Linked DNA regions of Homo sapiens: all the other regions are linked to region 2. Evidence: promoter capture Hi-C in human tissues and cell types (Jung and others, 2019). All regions are on one chromosome and are shown on one strand. Each heading gives the region's core, a stretch centred on a gene start or on the middle of the fragment in contact. The rest is flanking DNA. Distances are from core to core; before and after follow the strand shown.

Region 1 (4,274 bases), core at 1,404-3,903, 34 kb after region 2:
GAGACAGAGTCTCACTCTGTCGCCCAGGCTGGAGTGCAGTGGCGTGGTCTTGGCTCACTGCAAGCTCCGCCTCCCAGGTTCACACCATTCTCCCGCCCCAGCCTCCCAAGTAGCTGGGACTACAGGCGCCTGCCACCACGCCCGGCTAATTTTTTTGTATTTTTAGTAGAGACAGGGTTTCACCATGTTAGCCAGGATGGTCTCAATCTCCTGACCTTGTGATCCACCCGCCTTGGCCTCCCAAAGTTCTGGGATTACAGGTGTGAGCCACCGCGCCCAGCTGGTTTTGGTTTTTACTGTGGTTACTGTGGGTGTGGGATATTGACATGGGGGTGGAGGGGTGCACCAGACCCCCCGTGTATTTCTTTGCAATCTACTGTGAAACTATAATTATTACAAAATAAAAGTTAAATATGAAAACTATCTTTTTCACCTTCATGACTTAGTCATTAGTGTAACGGAAATACAACTGAATCTGCTTTTTTTTTTTTTGAGACAGGGTCTCACTCTGTCAGCCAGGCTGGAGTGGAGTGGTGCAATCACAGCTCACTGCAGCAACCTCCTGGGCTCAAGGGATCCTCCCATGTCAGCCTCCCAAGTAGCTGAGATGATAGGCATGCAGCACCATGCCTGGCTAATTTTTAATTTTTTTGTAGAGACGGGGTCGTGCTTTGTTGACCAGGTTGGTCTGGAACTCCTGGCCTCAAGAGATCCTCTAGCCTCAGTCTCCCAAAGTGCTAGGATGACAGGCGTGAGCCACCACGCCTAGTCTGGGTCTGTTTTTATGACTGGAGTTCCAGCAATGACTCATGGTGCCATTCTGAAAGTCAACCCTCACTGCCAAGGATGCAGGCCACTGGCTTAACTACGGACTGGCCCCAGGAGTCAGCTTATTTCTATTCCTTCTTGAGACAGCTGGTTTCTGGTGATTCTTTTACACACAAAAGCAGACTATAGGAGACAGACAGAATTTCAGTGGATCATGGAACCTGTTCCATTGGGTTCCAGGTCTTTGACTGTTTTGTGGCTATAGGACTACTGATTCCTAGGCACACATGCCCACTGGAAGCCATGCTCACTGAAAGCTGCACTTGGCACTGGTGGGAGCCTGTTTCTTGGATAGGAGGGGATTAACATTATCTTCTCTACCTCCCTGAGGGAGGACCCCTTCACAGGGCAAGGTGGATGACCTGCTTCACTCTTGGTCTTTCTCTGCCCCAGAGCTCCCCTCCAACTGGCTTTGGTGCAAGCATTTTGACACCTGCTTTCTTTACTTTCAACCTCGGTCTCAGCCAGAGGGCCGTGGGCAGGAGTGTTAGCTGCAACTGCCACGTGGCTGCTCTGAGGACAGCATTCTCCCTATGGGTGAAAGGCACCTGCACAGAGAGCCACCGCCTGGCCCATGACCCAGAAGAGCAGGAATGTGCCAGATGCCAGGGGCATCCCTACACACACTGACCCCTCTCAAGGTAGGCAGAGGAGCGTGAAGTCAGTCTTAGGTCTCCTCAGGCTTGGAAAGTATGGGACATAGCACGTGCCCTGCCTCGTCCTTGCTGGGAGCCCTATCCTCCTATCTCCTGAGCCGGACACTGGGGTGCTCACAGGGAGCACCACTGAGGGACTCATGCCAATCATTCTCCATTTCTTCATGAGAGGCACTGATCAGCTGTCAAATGATGAAAAGGGGAACAGATGAAGAGAAAACAAAGGAAAAAGGGTATTTCAAAACTCCTAAATTCATCCTAGAACAATCCAATATGGTGAGAGAATGTTACACCCATTTGACAGACAAGGACATGAGACAACGCGGTGAAGTACCTGCACAAGCTCAGTCAGCATGTGGTTGGGGGTGGGGGTGTGTTGCGTCCCTGCCCCACCCCCAGGGCACCAGGTAACTGAGGGACCGTGGAGCCAGGAAGCACCAGGGGACACTGGGCTGAGTAAGAGTCAGGAAACCCACACCAGGCTCCACCAGGGTTTGGTTGTGTGTATCAGAGACAGCAGATAACCAGGCCTAGCCTTGGTCTTCTCCACTTGGAATTAGGAACAGTGACACTATTGCTGCTGAGATAAAATGATATGTACATGAGAATGGTTTGAAAATCTGAAAAATCTCTGACAGAATTAAAGGTGGTGAAGTATTGATAATAAAAAATAAAGAGCTAAATGTGGTTCGTTTATATTCACAACTCAGCCCTCTGATTTCCTTTCTGTGGGCAAGACTCTATGTGCTGGCAAGCACTAGCTAATCCACAGGTTAAGCTGCAGAAACACACACACACTTTCTGCAGAGAAGGAAAGGAAACGCAATTGACAGTTACTAACATATCACCTAAAGCACACTCCTTACATCTGAAATGTAAAAATTAAATTGAGATAAAGCCTTAAAGTACTTTCATATGACGATCATATGTATCAGCGCTGTGTTCTTGCGCAGCACCTATGGCATCCTTAGGTAACAAGCTTGCATCCTACTCGGTGGCCGTCAGTAGATGGCCCTCCCCGTCTCCTCTCCCTGACACACACCGCACTGTGCATTCAGTACAACCTACGGGACACCAGGAGACACTTGGGTTGTTTTTCTTTCTGCGTCAGAGTTCCTGTGTCCTCCAGCCATGCTCAGCACCTGAAGAACGTCAGCAAACCATGGCCTGTGGGCTAGGCCTGTAAGCTAAGTATGGTTTTTATGTTTATTCAAGGTTCTTACATTTTTAAATGGTTAAAAAACCGTAAGAATATTTTGTGACAAGTAAAAATTAAGTTAAATTCAAATTTTGGTGTCTGTAAATAAAGGTTTCTGAAACACAGCCCTGCTCATTCATTTGTGAATGACAACATGGCTGCTTTTGCACTGCAAGGTGGAGCTGAGTAGTTGCTATGAAAACCATACAACCCAAGAAGCCTAAAATATTGACTATCTGGCTCTTTACAGAAACAGTCTGCCCACTACCCCTGATGCAGATGGAAGAGAAGTTGATTTAACATGCTTGTGATAACACTGATTTAATGATACTCGTATATATGCAATTCATCAAGAACTTGACTAGAAGTTATGAAACATATTCTTTTAGTCACTCTCTTATTCTTCCACTGTCGAAGAATGATCAGAGAAATGCAAAGAATTTGTTCAAAATAAATGCACAACAGAAAATAACTCTGGATAACTTAAGCGGAAGAGAAAGGCTCCAAAACCAGGCAGCTGAATTGGGTTGTATGCAACCATGAATGCTTTGAAGAGATTCCTAACAAGCGTGTCGGGGTGAAATGGCATGAGGTCTGGGTGTGCTTTAGCATACTTCAGCAACAAAAAGAAAAGTGAGGGGTGTGAGTGTCAGATCTTGATAACCAGGCATAGTATGATTAGAAGACAGCCCCTGGTGCCACCCCCACCACTGTCCCCCGACTCGTGGTGCACTGGGGCACCTGGCCGAGGTTGCTGGCCAAGGTGCCAGCCTCCTGCCCTCCCTTGAGACTGCTTGCTGGGCAATTCCTGAGTATTCTGGCCTGGCTGGTAGCTGGTGATCCACCGACAGCCCAGGTGAGTGCAGGCATCTGGGGCCTGGTTTGCTCCACTCATACACACCCTCAAGGAGGCAATGTGTGGGGCACTCACTCTCTCCTGCACCATGGCAGATGCACCCGGTGCACATTGCCCATGAGTGGACAAGAGTTTAACAAACAGGATGTTCTCAATCCCTCTTGGGTGATTAGATCTACATGGATATTCCTCCATAAGGTAAGGGCTGGCAGAGGTTTCTAGCAGAATGTAGTCCATGCATTCAAACTGGCAAGCAGGTCTCCTTCCCTCCTCTACTCCTAGTTGATTGATAGCAAGCTCCTCTAGGCCACTGCTCCCTAGAACAGCCCAAGGCCTCACAGGGACCATGGAGGTGGGATGGGGGGGCTTTCAGTTTTGAAGGCTCTAAAAGTTCCCAGAAGTAGCTGAGCTCGATCCTGAGATTCCCACTTCTACCACATAAATGAGGTTTCTCCATCTCTTTCCTTTCTTCAACCTGCCTAAGTGTCGGGAAAGAATGAACATTACTGGGCTGAGAAGCTTTGGGGACAGGGTTGTACCTGGGTGTCTTACACCCCAGTGCTTAGCACAGTGGCTGGTAGTCTGCATCTGTAAAAGGAATGGATTTACTGCCACTTCAGTATATGGGGCATGCTTAACTGGACTTTAAAAACACTTCTCTGTTTTGGCAATGCATTAATTTCCAAAGGAGATTACCCTTTAATAAACCTCTAACACCGTGTGTGTGTGTGTGTGT
Region 2 (4,149 bases), core at 528-3,027:
AGTGCAACGTTAGAAATGACCTCTGGAACTGACTGCAGAAACTGCACAGCAGTTAGTAGAGCTTGGTGTTCCGACGCAGATCTGGTGAGAGGCCTGCGCAGGAAGAGACTCGACATGGAGCAGGTGTGACTAGCGATAGTGATTTAATGGATTTGGGCCCGACATGGTGGCTCACGCCTGTAATCCCAGCACTTTGGGAGGCTGAGGCCGGCGAATCTCTTAAGCCCAGGAGTTTGAAACCAGCCTGGACAATATTGTGAGATCCCATCTCAATTTTTTTTTTGAGATGGAGTCTCGCTCTGTCGCCCAGGCTGGAGTGCAATGGAACGATCTCGGCTCACTGCAACCTCCGCCTCCCGGGTTCAAGCGATTCTCCTGCCTCAGCCTCCCGAGTAGCTGGGATTACAGGCGCACGCCACTACGCTTGGCTAATTTTTGTATTTTTAGTAGAAATGGGGTTTCACCATGTTGACCAGGCTGGTTTCAAACTCCTGACCTCAAGTGATCCGCCCACCTCAGCCTCCCAAAATGCTGGGATTACCGGCATGAGCCACTGTGCTCGGCTGAAAAAAACCATATTTTTAATTTAAAATAATAAATGGGTCTGACCAGAAATGCCTGCCTCAAATTGCAGGACACATGACAAAGCCCATTCTTACTTAAGACATTTTCAGTGTGCGATGGGTCTACCGGGATGTAACCCCATCGTGAGTCGAGGCCCATCTGCACCCTGCTATAGCTACTGGTAGATCTTACCTGTTTCCCAAAAAGGACCCAACTACTTTAGGTTCAAGGCACTTTTTTGGAATATTTAACAGGGAAAGAGCCTGGAACTAAAAACAGGTCTAACGCAAGATGCCGCCACACGATGGCACTGCTTCCGTAGACCTGGAAGAAACGCGGGCGCGGGAGCTGGCGGCGGACGCCCGGGTCTGCGGGGTCGGGGAGTAGCGTCCGGCCGGAGAGCCCGCACCTCGAGGAGCCGGCGGAGGACGCGGTGTCGTGACCGCGTCTCCCCCATCTGCTCTGCTTTTGGCGACAGCGTCCCGTCGGCCTTTCGGCCAGGACGCAGCAGCCGCGTCTCTGGGCCTCGACCCCCAGGGCCGGCCGGACCCGGGACCTCCGAGGAGAGCAGCGAGAACCGGCCCGGATTCCCCGAGGCGCCCGAGTGCGGTGCGGGCAGCCCTCCCCGCCTGCCAGGCCGCCGCTGTCCCCACGTCTGGTCCCCCACGCCTCTTCCCGCATCTGGTCCCACGGTGGAGGCGCGGGGCGAGGGCCTCACGCGCGTGCCCACGGTCGGGGGGCGTCCTTGGACGCGCGGGTCCTCTCCCACGGGTCTCCACCCCCCGCCCTCCGGCGACAGGAGCCGGCCTGGGACGCGCGCGCTGCGGCCAAGTCCTGGTTTTGATTTCACTCCCAACCCCGAGGAGCGAGGAGGTTCCAAGCCCACAAACAGGAAGAAGAGAAGGCCCTGGAGTGCTGGCAGAGGGAGTGTCATTCCCAGCAGCGCAGCGCAGGCCGGCCCGGGCCGGGGAGGGAGCAGCAGCGCGGGCACCCTCCTGCAACGTGGGCTGGGGGTCCCCAGGGCCGGGGAGGGGGCCCCGGGGAGGAACTGAGAGGGGGCGCGCCCCGGGAAGGCTCGGGGCGGCTCCGGGGGGCTCCCAGGGCGCCCCCGCCCCTTCCCCCGCGGCCCCGGGGCGCCCCCGCGGTGCCGGAGTCGGGGCGGGGCGTGCACGTCAGCCGGGGCTAGAAAAGGCGGCGGGGCTGGGCCCAGCGAGGTGACAGCCTCGCTTGGACGCAGAGCCCGGCCCGACGCCGCCATGAGCGCCGCGCTCTTCAGCCTGGACGGCCCGGCGCGCGGCGCGCCCTGGCCTGCGGAGCCTGCGCCCTTCTACGAACCGGGCCGGGCGGGCAAGCCGGGCCGCGGGGCCGAGCCAGGGGCCCTAGGCGAGCCAGGCGCCGCCGCCCCCGCCATGTACGACGACGAGAGCGCCATCGACTTCAGCGCCTACATCGACTCCATGGCCGCCGTGCCCACCCTGGAGCTGTGCCACGACGAGCTCTTCGCCGACCTCTTCAACAGCAATCACAAGGCGGGCGGCGCGGGGCCCCTGGAGCTTCTTCCCGGCGGCCCCGCGCGCCCCTTGGGCCCGGGCCCTGCCGCTCCCCGCCTGCTCAAGCGCGAGCCCGACTGGGGCGACGGCGACGCGCCCGGCTCGCTGTTGCCCGCGCAGGTGGCCGCGTGCGCACAGACCGTGGTGAGCTTGGCGGCCGCAGGGCAGCCCACCCCGCCCACGTCGCCGGAGCCGCCGCGCAGCAGCCCCAGGCAGACCCCCGCGCCCGGCCCCGCCCGGGAGAAGAGCGCCGGCAAGAGGGGCCCGGACCGCGGCAGCCCCGAGTACCGGCAGCGGCGCGAGCGCAACAACATCGCCGTGCGCAAGAGCCGCGACAAGGCCAAGCGGCGCAACCAGGAGATGCAGCAGAAGTTGGTGGAGCTGTCGGCTGAGAACGAGAAGCTGCACCAGCGCGTGGAGCAGCTCACGCGGGACCTGGCCGGCCTCCGGCAGTTCTTCAAGCAGCTGCCCAGCCCGCCCTTCCTGCCGGCCGCCGGGACAGCAGACTGCCGGTAACGCGCGGCCGGGGCGGGAGAGACTCAGCAACGACCCATACCTCAGACCCGACGGCCCGGAGCGGAGCGCGCCCTGCCCTGGCGCAGCCAGAGCCGCCGGGTGCCCGCTGCAGTTTCTTGGGACATAGGAGCGCAAAGAAGCTACAGCCTGGACTTACCACCACTAAACTGCGAGAGAAGCTAAACGTGTTTATTTTCCCTTAAATTATTTTTGTAATGGTAGCTTTTTCTACATCTTACTCCTGTTGATGCAGCTAAGGTACATTTGTAAAAAGAAAAAAAACCAGACTTTTCAGACAAACCCTTTGTATTGTAGATAAGAGGAAAAGACTGAGCATGCTCACTTTTTTATATTAATTTTTACAGTATTTGTAAGAATAAAGCAGCATTTGAAATCGCCCCTGCTTCCTATATTCGCAGTGACTCCCGCCCGCCCGCCGGTGGCGCAGGACCCGGCTCGGGAAGGGTGCGTTCCGGACCCGCAGCCAGCGAGCACCAGGGAGCCCGGGCGCCAGGTGTGTGTGTGGGGGGGGCGGGGGGATGGGGCGCAGGCCCGAGCTACTCAGGAGAGAGGGTCTGTCGCTTTTAAAACGCATTAAAGGCTCTCTCCTGGCCTTATTTAACTTGCCTAAGCTAGGTGGAGCACGGCTGAGCTCAGGTAAGCTAGCAGCTTTCCAGCAGAAGGTGTTCTCCCGAAGAACGCAGACCTGGGGAAGGGTTGACTTTTTGGGGGCCCCTGCTGAGAACAGTTCAAGAGCTCCCTAACTGTAGAGGCTGCTGGAGGGGCGAGGGGCAGAACCCCGGGCTGAATCATCTCCCGCTTTCCCGGGACTTTGCTTTCACTTTCCTCAGTCTTGTGGACAGAGTCAAGTAGATTTTCAAAAGTGCTCCAGAAAGGCCGGAATAGTCATGTAGTGGATGAAAAGGGCAGTCACAAAACTGCTTAAGACCAGCTGTCTTGCCAGTAATTGCAGTGCTTTAAGATTTAATTAAAAAGCCGCCTGCCTTTAACCCAAGAACACTTGGTATTAGGGCACCATGTCTTGGTCACGGCTGCTACGTGTATCTGATGTAGTTAACCATGGCCTGTCATGATTATATTGCTATAAGGAAGGGAACAAAATCTTTATAGTGTCCAAAGATAATTAATTCTTGGTTTAAATCTTTGCCAGCAAAGCAAATATCCGACTGACTGCTCCTTAGTCTGTGATCTTTGCTCTCCGTGCACATTACCCAGCCTAATTAAAACAGGTGTGTGTGGTGGAGCCAGCTATCCCCACCACCATTCAGCAGAGACACGATCACACCAGTTCAGAGAGCTACACTTTATGGGTAACAGTTTCACCTGTGATACAGTTCCCTAGAACATTTTCCCAAAAGTAGTGAACTGCAAAGTGCTTAGGTTTGACATTTATTGTAGCAGAACAGTAATATCACAGTATGGGACAAAGGTTTACACTTTGCAGGGTATTCTTTGGGGGAATGTTAAATACTGTAATAAAAACATGTTCAATCATGGT
Region 3 (4,235 bases), core at 753-3,252, 51 kb after region 2:
CCTGCCTGGGGGTCATGAAAACAAGTCCAGTTACATACTCTGGCCAGGCAGTCCCACTTTGGGAATGCTATCCGCTCCCCCTCCAAAAATTGGTACTTCTGCCGATAAAAAGACAAGCCACCTACAACACATAAATTATACACAACCAATGAAGGACTACTACTCAGAATATATAAAGCTCAACACCCCAAAAGAAAAATAAACAAAAGACTTGAACAGCACTTCATCAAAGTGGAAACACAAATGGAAATACACAGCAAAAGGCTCTCAGCCTCAGCGGTAATCAGGAACTGGAATTTAAACCACAGTGAATTCCACTACAGATCTACCAGTTTGAAAAAAATGCAGGCCAGAAAAAAGATAATGAAAAAGACACCTAAGTGTACCAAATAATGGAAAGACAGCAGAGCAGCAGGAACTCTACTATGCTAACAGAAATGGAGGCTGAACTCCGCTCCTGGAAGACAGTTTAGCACTATCCATTGAAGGTGAGGAACACCCCACCCCCACGATGTGCACACCTGTGCCCTAGGGGATACACAGCAAGGGCTCCTGCCGCTGCCAGCAGTGGTCGGAAATGCCTAGAACAACTGCATGAACAAAGAGACTATGGTAAATGCATAAAATGGAATGAAAACGAATAAACCGGAGCTACCTGCAATAGACAGAAGAAACTTACAAGGTTTATTGGTTTAAAACTATGTTGTTTCCGTCCTCTTTTGTAAGGGTCCCCCACACCAGGGTCCTTTTGTGTGCAGCTGGGGCCGCGGCATCTCTAGTGAGCAAAAAAAGCAAAACACGGCCGGGCGTGGTGGCTCACGCCTGTAATCCCAGCACTTTGGGAGGCCGAGGCGGGCGGATCTCGAGGTCAGGAGATCGAGACCATCCTGACTAACACAGTAAAAGCCCGTCTCTACTGAACATACAAAAACTTAGCCGGGCATGGTGGCGGGCGCCTGTAGTCCCAGCTACTAGGGAGACTAAGAATGGTGTGAATCCAGGAGGCGGGGCTTGCAGTGAGCCAAGATTGCACCACTGCACTCCAGCCTGGGCAACAGAGAGAGACTCCGTCTCAAAAAATAAATAAATAAAATAAAATAAAAAGCAAAACACAAAGAATGCACAAGCATGATGCTGTTTCCATAAAGTTCAAAAACAGGTAAACCTATACGCATGCACACACACACACACACACACACACACACTTTTTTTTTTTGACAGCCAGGTCTCAATCTGTCACCCAGTGATTCTCCCATCTCAGCCTCCCAAGTAGCTAGGACTACAAGTGTGCACCACCACACTCGGCTAATTTTTTACTTTTTGTAGAGATAAGGCCTCACTATGTTGCCCAGGCTGGTCTCAAACTCCTGGCCTCAAGTGATCCTTCTGTCTTGGCCTCCCGAAGTGCTGGAATTACAGGCGTGAGCCACTGTGCCCAGCCTAAATATATTTCTAAAGATGTACAAAAAGTAGTATAACTGTAAAGAAAAACATGGAAACACTCTCAGAAGTGTGAAGATCTTTAGGATCAGGGTAGGGGCAGCAGGTGGCTTCTGGATACCCACCATGTTTATTGAATTACAGTGGTGGCTTAATGAGTGAGCTTTATTTATTCACTTATTATTTGTTACAATCTACAATTATGCCCTCTTTCATATGCTTGTTATATTTCACAGTAAAGAAGGTTAAAATATAAGCTCAATACATACAGGAGATACAGACAGAGATATACAAGGAAGTGTGTTGCAGCACTGCTTTGAAGTGGTAAACACCAGAAACAACCTGAATGTCTATCAGGAGAGGGACATCCTGGTGAAATTAAGTGAAAAACGCAAACCATATCTTTTTGTTTATAGATATGTCTACATTCGTGGAGAAAGATGTGAAAGATTACTTACCGGGGTAAATATCCAGTGGGTAAAAGGTAAAAGAGAGATTATTAAATTGTTGTTATAATTTATGTTAATTCTGTTAACAGCAACAACCAACAAAACAGTGGCTATATTATTATCACATTTATGGATCATACTGAAAGTCCTAATCTGAGGCCTTTTACAAATGTATGGTCCAGGTTCAATGGCTTCATCACAACCCACTCCGTTGTTGGTGGCTTGAGAAAGAGAAGTAAATTATCTTGCTTTTATTTAACAGTAATGAAAACTACTAAAAGTAATGATATTAAAAGTAATGGTAAAAACTGCAATTACTTTTGCACTAACCTTTTTTAAAAGCTAATTATTTTTGTTAATAAGTATCTAAGTAAACTTTGAAAAAAAAAAAGAACCCTAACTAAACCAAAAGCAGGCAGTGTAATTATTTACTATGGATTTAATACTCCTAGTTACTCAAGACAATCCTACTATAGATAGTTTATTGCTGTTGTTTAACAAAAACAGTGGAAAATACCAAGAATCTAAATTAATATCAACATCACTGACAAGAAATAATCAGATTTTTATTTTGAGGGCCAGGGGTTATAAATATAAAACAAATGAGAAATTTATAGAAATGAATTCCCCTAAAACTGGAAGTAATTAAATGTCAGCTGTAGTACTGAAAATCAGACTTTGGAATTTGGTGCACCTGTCTTAAGACCCAGCTCACATACAGGGATCCAAATTACTTAATGTCAGTGAACTTCAGGGTCTTATCTAAAAAATAAATACCATGATCTAATTTATTAGCTAGTTTGAAGGTAAAATGAAAAAATAGAGTGACTCTAGTGACACTCAAGCTTTCTTTTCTTTCCACTTTCAGCATCCCGTATTAACAGAGATTTTCTTGGCAAATTATAAAGATTTAAGTATTTTTTCCAAAATTCAAATCTGTAAGATTTTCCAATTTTGAGAATTCAGCTAATAATAGCATATTTAAAGTAAATATTTGGATTTTTTATTTGAGATTAATACAGGAACATTTCTATTCTGCTTCTGAATCATACTGCTACCCAGTGTCCCCATGGTAGCAACTACTGCCGCAAGCTATTAACCCGAGAGGAAGAAAGAAGAACTATGGAACATGTGAAATGTTTATATGGGCAATTAATCCACAACAGATGCTTTCAGACTATGCTGCTGGACTCCTAAGGAGCTGGGTGGGGAGCCATGGTGGCCCAACTCATCCACCTTCCAGAACAAACAACTTCACATAATTTGTTTTATAAGCTTCCCCTTCCCCTTCCCTTCTCTCTCCTCCTTGCTTCCTTCCTTCCCTCCCTCCCTTTCCTTGTGTATAGACAGGTCTCGAGATGTTGCCGAGGCTGGTCTTGAACTCCTGCACCCAAGTGATCCTCTTGCCTTGGCCTCCCAAAGTGCTGGGATTACAGGTATGAGCCATCGTGCCTGAACAGATTTCTATTAAAGAAAAACAGGGCCAGGTACGGTGGCTCACACCTGTAATCCCAGCACTTTGGGAGGCCGAGGTGGGCAAATCATGAGGTCAAGAGATTGAGACCATACTGGCAACATGGTGAAACCCCGTCTCTACTAAAAATACAAAAATTAGCTGGGCATGGTGGTGTGCACCTGTAGTCCCAGCTATTCGGGAGGTTGAGACAGGAGAATCGCTTGAACCTGGGAGGTGGAGGTTGCAGTGAGCAGAGATTAAAAAAAAAGAAAGAAAAACAAAAACTGAAAGTCTTAAAACCACTGATCTCTGCCAATGCACTCCAGCCTGGGCGACAGAGAGAGACTGTCTCAAAAAAATAAATAAATAAATAAATAAATAAATAAATAAATAAATAAAACCACTGACCTCCTACTGGTAGATAATTATAATTTCTGTGGTAAGAAGGACAGTGAAGGGTAGGGTGGGGGAAATATTTTTAAGAGAAGAAATGATTTAAAAAAAGAATAAAACAAAACCCTGCCCATTTACTGAATTCTAGACTTACTGTGCTGCAAGGTAAATTAACTAGTTAAATTACTAACCTGGAGGGATAAGTGGTATTTGTTTTTATGCTGTCATATCAGCTGATCTTCCATTTGTTTTTTGTTTGTTTGTTTGTTTTTTGAGACGGAGTTTTGCTCTTGTTGCCCAGGCTGGAGTGCAATGGCATGATTGGCTCACTGCAACCTCTGCCTCCAGGGTTCAAGCGATTCTCCGGCCTCAGCCTCCCAAATAGCTGGGATTACAGGCATCTGCCACCACGCCCGGCTATATTTTCAGTAGAGACAGGGTTTCACCATGTTGGCCAGGCTGGTCTCGAACCTCTGACCTCAGGTGATCCACCTGCC

What was found. Contacts are between HindIII fragments. The study calls those that stand out against the background at their distance.
Region 1: a fragment that was not itself captured here is called in contact with the fragment with the promoter of CEBPD in region 2 in 4 of the 25 tissues and cell types used here (adrenal gland, bladder, mesenchymal stem cells and 1 more).
Region 3: a contact is called between a fragment that was not itself captured here and the fragment with the promoter of CEBPD in region 2, in 2 of the 25 tissues and cell types used here (aorta and lymphoblastoid cells).

What each region holds. Positions count from the first base shown.
Region 1 is chr8:47,702,119-47,706,392 of GRCh38, reverse strand. The region is part of intron 14 of SPIDR (scaffold protein involved in DNA repair); the gene reads right to left. Among named protein-coding and RNA genes, the nearest start is that of CEBPD, 34 kb to the left of the region's middle. The HindIII fragment of the contact is 6,895 bases long and covers 1-4,274 here.
Region 2 is chr8:47,735,792-47,739,940 of GRCh38, reverse strand. CEBPD (CCAAT enhancer binding protein delta) reads left to right here and starts at 1,777. Exons shown (of 1, transcript NM_005195.4): 1 at 1,777-3,028. The coding sequence starts at 1,821. The coding sequence ends at 2,630. It overlaps SPIDR (scaffold protein involved in DNA repair), which reads right to left. Exons shown (of 20, transcript NM_001080394.4): 20 at 3,635-4,149. RefSeq lists silencers at 949-1,418, 1,509-1,588, 1,629-1,738, 2,229-2,418 and an enhancer at 1,815-2,753. The HindIII fragment of the contact is 24,041 bases long and covers 1-4,149 here.
Region 3 is chr8:47,684,987-47,689,221 of GRCh38, reverse strand. The region is part of intron 11 of SPIDR (scaffold protein involved in DNA repair); the gene reads right to left. Among named protein-coding and RNA genes, the nearest start is that of CEBPD, 51 kb to the left of the region's middle. The HindIII fragment of the contact is 4,038 bases long and covers 1-4,021 here.